Linked DNA regions of Homo sapiens: all the other regions are linked to region 3. Evidence: promoter capture Hi-C in 16 types of primary human blood cells and fetal thymus (Javierre and others, 2016). All regions are on one chromosome and are shown on one strand. The core of a region is centred on a gene start or on the middle of the fragment in contact, and the rest is flanking DNA. Distances in the headings are between cores, read along the strand shown.

Evidence for each region. The method cuts DNA at HindIII sites, captures the fragments that hold promoters and counts their contacts. A CHiCAGO score of 5 or more calls a contact.
Region 1: a fragment that was not itself captured here is called in contact with the fragment with the promoter of DARS1-AS1 in region 3 in 1 of 17 cell types (neutrophils); the score reaches 5.0 in neutrophils.
Region 2: a fragment that was not itself captured here is called in contact with the fragment with the promoter of DARS1-AS1 in region 3 in 4 of 17 cell types (monocytes, activated CD4 T cells, total CD8 T cells and 1 more); the score reaches 8.0 in monocytes.

Annotation. Positions count from the first base shown.
Region 1 is chr2:136,176,595-136,179,294 of GRCh38, forward strand. No RefSeq gene overlaps it. Among named protein-coding and RNA genes, the nearest start is that of CXCR4, 60 kb to the left of the region's middle. The HindIII fragment of the contact is 1,862 bases long and covers 364-2,225 here.
Region 2 is chr2:136,233,771-136,236,470 of GRCh38, forward strand. No RefSeq gene overlaps it. Among named protein-coding and RNA genes, the nearest start is that of CXCR4, 120 kb to the left of the region's middle. RefSeq lists enhancers at 1,970-2,700, 2,266-2,700. The HindIII fragment of the contact is 883 bases long and covers 994-1,876 here.
Region 3 is chr2:135,983,815-135,986,514 of GRCh38, forward strand. It overlaps DARS1-AS1 (DARS1 antisense RNA 1), which reads left to right and starts at 1,362. Exons shown (of 4, transcript NR_110199.1): 1 at 1,362-1,702. DARS1 (aspartyl-tRNA synthetase 1) reads right to left here and starts at 1,812. Exons shown (of 16, transcript NM_001349.4): 1 at 1,589-1,812. The coding sequence starts at 1,654. RefSeq lists a silencer at 1,449-1,508 and an enhancer at 1,559-1,658. The HindIII fragment of the contact is 7,953 bases long and covers 79-2,700 here.

The DNA.
Region 1 (2,700 bases), core at 45-2,544, 190 kb after region 3:
TCAAGGACATGGTCTGATGGAAATGAAGAGGCTAATTGTTGGGGTTCATTTGCTGGATCATGATGAGGCTGCAAACAGAAAAAGTGCATTACTCATGACAATTGGGTCGTTTGTGGAAAGGGAAGAAAGGACCCTGTCATTAAAGTTTGTTTCTCTCCTGCTTTCTAGATATGGGAATTCTGGAAAGAATCCACTCTCCTCAGAAAAAAAAAAGTCAGCTTGTTTTAATTCCTAAATGGATATGGTCCTGTGAACTAGGGGACTTGGGAGAAACGACTTCCCTGACTATGTAAATGTTTGTTTTTGCCTTAATGTGTTTGTCCATTTGCTTGACTGCTCAGAAGATAGTCATCTGAAAACACAAGCTTCAGGAGAAACTTTAAAAAACCCAACAACTAGTGCAAAAAAACCTACCACCCAACCCCTAAAACGAGAATACCAAACTGTGACCTCTCTCTCCACCTTCTTAGCCTGTACTTTAGTGCACTTTTCATAGAGAAGCCTCCACTTCCCAGTGGCCCCTTTGGGACAATGCCTTTGGCTGGGGCTTCTGAACACCCAGGTGGTTTCATGAAGTACCTCCATGTTATCCAGAACCAAGAGAAGACTTTTTCTTTCATTCCTTCCTCCCTTCCTCTCTCCTTCCCTCCGTCCCTTTCTCCTTTCCTTTTTCCTTTCCCCTTTCCATTTTCCCCTTTCCTGTTCCCTCTCCTCCCCTCCCCTTCCCTCCTTTTTCCTCCCCTCCCCTCCCTTTCCCTTTCCTCTTTCTTTTTTGGCAGCTCTTTGCACCCTAAGGAAATTTCTGGAATTCTGGTGACTTTCTGAGATCAAATGGCCTTTTTAACATCTCAAGTCTTTCAAAGTCCTTTGTTCCAGACTTTCACCCTTCAGTCTGAAGCAAAGGACTGATCAACACCAGCTGGACAGGCCCTTTGGGAAAACATCAGCAGGAGGGTTCACGGATATAGTCATGGGCTTAAAAAAGCCAAGACTGCTCTCTGGCCCTTCCTATCTGTTGTCTGCCTTCAATTTTGATGAAAAACACAGGGTTTAAAGTTGGTATGTTACTGGACTTCCTATGCCTCTGTAAAAATGTGGTTAATAATATTAGGTTGGAGCAAAAGTAGTTGTGGTCTTTGCTATTACTTTTAAATATCAAAAACTGCAATTACTTTTGCACCAACCTAATAGTAAGAAATTTATAGGATTAAATTATATATAGGTTGGGCGCGGTGGCTCACGCCTGTAATCCCAGCACTTTGGGAGGCCAAGGTGGGGGGATCACGAGGTCAGGAGTTTGAGACCAGCCTGGCCAATATGGTGAACTGCCATCTCTACTGAAAATACAAAAATTAGCTGGGTGTGGTGGCACACACCTGTAGTCCCAGCTGCTCGGGAGGCTGAGGCGGGAGAATCGCTTGAATCTGGGAGGCGGAGGTTGCAGTGAGCCAAGATTGTGCCACTGCACTCCAGCCTGGGTGACAGAGCAAGACTCCATCTCAAAAAAAAAAAAAGAAAGAAAAAATATAAATACATACAAAGGGTTTAGAACCATGTGGGAAGTTACTCAGTGAAATGCAGCCAGCATTGTTACTGTTGACCAGTTTATCATCCCAGAAAGAAGGTGGCAAATACAAAGACAGACATGGAGAGAATGAAGCTAAAGGAGGAACCCTGAGCCTAAGGTCATGCTGCAAAGCGTAGGGGGGAAAGGTATGATCTCTCACCCATCTTAAGGGTCACCACCATAACAAAAGCTAGGCTAACAAAGAAAAGCATAACAAATGTATTTAATCACGTGTTATGTGACATGGGAGCCTTCAGAAATGCAGACCCCAAAATCTAGGGAAATCTCTGTTTTTATGTTTAGGTTTCATGAAAAATGGACAGCTGTATAGAAATGTGATTGAACAAAAGGGTGTGATCTAATGGTCATGAAGCCGGAGACCCAGCAGGGCCTGTCCAGATTCTTCTTGGATTTTCTCTGTAACAGTCCCTCCCCTGGGGTATAAGTCAGGAACCTCTGAAATTAAGGTCTTCAAGGGAGAAGGGAGAGGGTGGCCTTTCTAGGTTTTTATGGCTTGCTTTTGGGGAAAGTGGTTCTAGTTTCTATGAGCCACCTTAGGGAAGAGGAATTCTGATTTCTATGACTTGCTTTGGCAGGGAAAATAAAGAGGGGTAAGAGATAGGAGAGCAGGAGAAGGTCAGAGAGTCCTTGCTTCTGAAGCTTTCCAATTTCCTTCAGTTCAAAGTACTTAGCATGCTCAAGCGCCATACTTCGGGGTATCATTTTCTGAGCCCCAGTGCAAGTCAAGGCAATTGAACCAAGATGGTGTCAGATCGTTTGATCTGGTCCATCCATTGGGCATGGGAGGGAGGCAGCCACAAAGTCTTGGTGAAAATGGGGTGAGAGATGGGCCTTTGTGAAATAGGGATAGAGATCTGAACCCTGCAGGGTTCCTAAATGGATGAGCAAACCAACTGGAACTTGTCACTAGTTGGCTCTGGCTAAAGGTGACTATAATAATAACCTTCTTTTACGATAGCTGGGTCCTCTCCTCAGAGCTTCAGGCTTTCTGAATTCAGAGCCTTCCTTAAGGTAAGGAAATGGCAGTTTGCTTGAATACAATGGTCTTTTTAAGGCAGCTCAGATGTTTATCTTATCCCAATATTTACCCTATTGAATAGGATTTGGGTGGC
Region 2 (2,700 bases), core at 185-2,684, 250 kb after region 3:
AATCTCCATGGTTTAGCACAGTGCCAGGCAGATATAAAAAAACAAACTGAAGGAAATACACCAAAAAGATGAGATAATAGATGACAATAAAAATGTATTCTTCATACTTTTTCATATTTTCCGTTATTATTATTATTATTATTATTTGAGACAGAGTCTCACTCTTGTCACTGAGGCTAGAGTGCAGTGGCACAATCTTGGCTCACTGCAACCCCTGCCTCCCAGGTTCGAGCAATTCTCCCGCCTCAGCCTCCCGAGTAGCTGGGATTACAGGCACCCACTATCATGCCCAGCTAATTTTTGTATTTTTGTAGAGATGAGGTGTCACCATGTTGGCCAGGCTGGTCCTGAACTCCTGACCTCAGGTGATCCACCCGCCTTGGCCTCCCAAAGTGCTGGGATTACAGGTGTGAGCCACTGCACTTGGCCCATTATTTTATTTTATTTTTAATCATAAATAGTATTACTTAGAGAATGATAAAAACAAAAACAGTAAGTGGTATTTTTTTCGAACACTCAGGATCGGAGAGGATCTGAGAAGCATGCTGTACATGTTTCCACCCCAAGGCCAATGTAGCATCCTTGCCTTAGCTTCCAATGTGCAAGAACAGCTGGCTATTCCTAGGGCTTTCCCACAAGCCCCAGACACACTGTTGTGAGGGGCGGCCACGTGGGTGTCACAGCTGGGAACTGGTTCTACTGTGGCCTGTCCCTTTTCAGGGATTGATTTGGGCTGTGTTACGGTAATCAAGCACAAACCAACAGTTATGTGGGATGTCTTATATATACCAAATACCCCTGCAGCTGGAACGCACTCAATTATCTTGACTGCCTTGGGGCTGAGCTGAGTGATGCAGCCAGGCCCTGTGCTAGGTGCGAAAGTGACTCAAAGGAGCCAGGCTGTGTGTTTCATGCTGTTTAGCAGTTTGCAAGCTAGTTGGGCTAATAATATGTGTGCATTCAAAGCTAACCAATATCAGAAGGCAGTATTTAAGCTTCAAATGAGTTTCTAGGAGGTAGAGAGGGTAGGAGGGCTGTGTAAGAAGGTGGTGTTTTGAGATGGGACTTGACCCAGGGTCTCCAATGGTGGCGAAGAGGAGGCAGGCCTTCCAGGGAAGGAAACAGCTTGCAGAAAAGCCTAGCAGTGGGAGTAAGTTTGGCTTGTGTATTTCATTTAGGGGTGGTGGGGAACTGAGTGATGGATGGGGACAGAGAAGAAAATGTGCAGCCGCGAATGGGAAAGTGATGGAGACGTGGGTATAGGCCAGGTCTGGGAAGGTTGTGAGAGCAGGACAAAGGTGGAGCCATGAACTGGAAGGTGGTATGGGCCCTTGTGTGGCTCTCAGGGGAGGAGGTGCTCTAATGTAACCACTCTGGGCCACAGATTCTTCCCATATGTGGAAATGTGGTATGAACCCTGTTAAGAACATGGGCCATGGGTGAGATGCTTGTGTTTGATTCCTGGCTCCACATCGTATCACCTGTTTGAGACTCAATTTCCTTATCTGCAAAATGGTGATAATGAAGCCCCTTCTCATAAAATTGTTCTGAGGATAAAGGAGATAATCCATATAAAGTGTTTAGCATAATGTCTGGCACATTGCATGTGTCTAATAAATCGCTGTTTTATGCAAATGAATATTAGTACTTATTTCATCAGTATGGTAAAAATGGTAGTAAATCTAGAAAAACCAAATATCAAAATAACTGGAAATTATTCTATTAAGAGAATGAACTTGAGAATGCTTCAGGGAGATCTTTGTTGGAAAGTCCCACTCCAATTCTACAATTTGGCTCCATTTACTGTGGCTTAGCTTTTGTGAAATATTTATGTTGGCAGGTTACTCAACTATAATTTTTGTTCGTTATCCCTCTAAGCTTGGTGAGGAAGATTAGTCTGTTTATCTTATATTGCAGAAGACACATGTAGATATAAATGCACTGCCATTTAGTTACAACATCTCTTCCATTAGCATTTACCGTGGTTGTCAGCCAAACTTCTATGGGGTGGAGGGGAAGAGAAGGGGACAAAGGGGTCCGTGAGTGACGGTGGTTGGGCAATTTTATACTGTGAAGAAGAAGGTGGTGGAAAATTTGGAGGCACCAGGGTGGTTTCTGCTTTGCCAGACTTAAGACTCAGCCTTGGAAGTCCTTGCAGAAGATTAGGAATGACCAAAATTGCTAAAACAAGACTGGCAAAGCAAACCAAATACCTCATACTCTTTAAAATATTAGTCATTCCTTCGGATGCTATAGTTTAAATTCTCCCTAATTAAAATTAACAACCTTTGGGGGACATTTGAGTGCCATTATCAGTGGACTTCTTAGTGGAGAATTATTTTCCAAGCCAAAGGACAACACCCCCAAACTTGGCTGCTACTTGACATTCCTGTGTGCCGGACTTACGTGAGTCTTTTTAACTAATGACAATGGTGAGCTGAGAAGGTCCTCCAGGGGATATGACTCACAGTGACTCAGGTGCACCAGAGCCTTGATCTAGCCCTATTGTTTTTCGTCAATAGGCCTTTGCCATGATCCAGCTGGAATATCAGTGGAATTGAGCTGGTCATGATAGAAAGAGAGGCCATTCAATGCCAATGCTCTTGTGAGATGCCTGGTAGTGCCGGTTACCTCTGCAGTGGCTGGCCCTGGTCTATGTGTGCTGTCTAACCACATAGATGATGGTGGCAGTGCCTAATG
Region 3 (2,700 bases), core at 112-2,611:
GAGTAGGATGAAGTACCACAGTTTTATTAACTTCCTATTACAGGAAGAAATGTTCAAAGAGAACCAACGTTTTGGGTAAGCTTTCTGAGCACCAGATGTCCACAGTTTTTAGAAACTGGAGATGCTGGGTATAAGCTAACTACAACTTTCCTTTTGTAAAACATCATCAAAAAATTCACCAGCTTCCTGTTTCTAAAAACCAGATTCAGGATACCAGGTTACAGGAGTTTGACACTGACAATATAATAATATCAAATTTCTTGTTACAGATTAGAGTTAGGAACAGGAAACAGAAGACCTAGGGTCCAATCTGTTAACAAAATATACTTATTAAATAGATAAGTGGCCTTTATTTCAATCTTACTTTACCTCTAAAATGATCTAAGATTCTTCTAGCTATAAAATGGCATAACTCTGCCACAATGTCTACCTTGTATCTAGACCTATACTATCTGTAAGGGTACACTGATAGTTTATGTAATTAAGCAGATTAAGAGTACACAAAAATAATTGCCCTAGTTTTTACAAGGTAACTTAAGATCTGTATGAAACAATTAAGTTTCTGTCACTTTACAGCTACCTGTTGGAATCCTCTCCTTTAGAGCAGGAGGGTGCTGGATTTTGTGTTTACACCAAAATAAAACCAGACATGTTTAAGGCGCTTACTGAACAATTTAAAGAAAAAGATAACCCTGGCCAGAGTAGAGAGATACAGTCACACAATGAAGCCTGAGGGCAACAGAAGGAGATTAAATTGTGTGAAGGACAAAAAAGTTGCATTCATAATTAGTACTATTAATATTTCAGTGACTCTTCCTCATTTAGTATTCTAAGATGACCTTACTTCTCATGTTGCTTACCACAAACTCAGAACTCCTTATAGAAAAATTAGGGAGCCAGACGGAAATTAAGGCTTAACAGTACTACAGCACACATAACTTGTAGGATGGTTTCAAACTTTGATTTCTGAAAAGCACCGAAGGATCACTGGGTGTTATGAATTATCCACGTGATTTGGGGTCACTTCACCTCAAATGCATTCTCGGTAACTCCTATTACCTACCTTACCGGGTCACTGAGAGGGAGAAAGTAAATAAAAATGACATGTGTTCTTTAAAGCTGTCACATGGGAAATGGTCATTAAACATATTGGCAGATGGTTTTGCTAAGTACTGTCATTACTTGCTAAAGCATTAGGAACACGAGGGCTGAGTACATATCGATTACTAGTGCTTATTAAAATTTTCCCAGGGATTGTGCATTACGTGCAGGACGTGCCTAACCCAGAGAGACTCAAGTGTGACGCCGCGCTCCTACTTCCGGGGCGGCTGGTTCTTCCCGTCCTCCCCACCCCGGGGACACGCTTCTAGTAGGCCAAACTCCCAGGTGACCCCCGCAAGAAACGCGGTCCGGAGAGGGTCTGGCCCCACTGCTGGGGCAAGGGCTCTAGGCGCCCGGACCCCACGCCCGCAGCCTGCGGAGAACGTGCCGACAAGGACCTGTAGGGCCCCACTCCCCCTCCTCCCTCCCTCGGCGCAGCCCGGCCCAGGGGTCTGTCCTCCCAGGCCCAGGAAAGGAGGAAACCCACTTCCGCCGCGTCCATGATCTCCCGCGGCTTCTCCTGACTCTTGCGGCTGGCGCTGGCGCTGGGCATCGGGACACGGAACTGGGCAGTGGACACCACCCTCCCTCGCAGGCTTCCGTAAGGCAGGCCAAAGGGGCTTCTCCCTCCCTCCCAGTCTCCGCCCTCCCGACCCTGGGGTCTCAGCACACGCGCTCGGACTCCGCGTGGAGGTGCGGCTCCAGAAAGATCGCGAGAGCTGCGGCTATCTCGAGATCCCGGAGCGCTGGCGGCCGCGCGCAGGGTCTCCTCCCACTCTTGCCCCGCCCCTCCGGGAGTTTTCCCGGAGTTGGAGGGAATTCCCGGGAATTCGCGGTAGTTTCGCTGGATTGGCTCTGGGGGCGGGGGCAGGGGTTACCAGGTGGCTGGCTGTAGACCTGGGCGAATGCCAGCTCTCTTCAGCTTCGTCCCAACTGCGACTTCTGCTCCATTCTTCTAACAGCCCTTTCAACTCCGCTCGGCTGTAACCGCAGACTCGTCACTAAAACACCCACCTAAGCGCGGGCCTTGGTTTCTCCTCTCTTGGACTTTCCCGCCTTCTCTCTTCCCCTGGGCGACGTAGCTGCTTGGGGACGGAGGAGGCCTCTTCGCAATCCATTGCCCTGCTTGTTGGGACAGAGGAGTGCAGTTGGCTTGCCAAGGCAGCATGGGTTACCAGTCCCTGTGTAAGTGAGGTGTAAATACAGTGGCAACGACAACAAGAAACGCATACAATTGCATTGATTGCCTGGATCTGTTGCAGTGTTAGGGACAGTGCATAGTGTTGGTTGCCCAATGGGCGAATATCCCCAAGTTAGGCTTTTTTAAAAAACTGATTTTTTAAAAAAGCTATCATTCATGAGTTTTGAATCGAAATTGAAAATAATTTGGAGATTTGGTTTAATACTGTTTCCCCTGCCAGAGTTTGCACTCCGTCGTTTCAACTGACTTGGTAGTGTCTTAGTCTGGCACAAAGTGTTAAGGGGTGCACATAGATCCCAGCGCAAGTGAAAGGCTCTCTCTGGAGGCTCCCCCATGGAGTAGTGAGAAGACAGCCATGGTCCTTGCTTGCCTGTAGCTTTCCTTCTAATTGCAGGTGG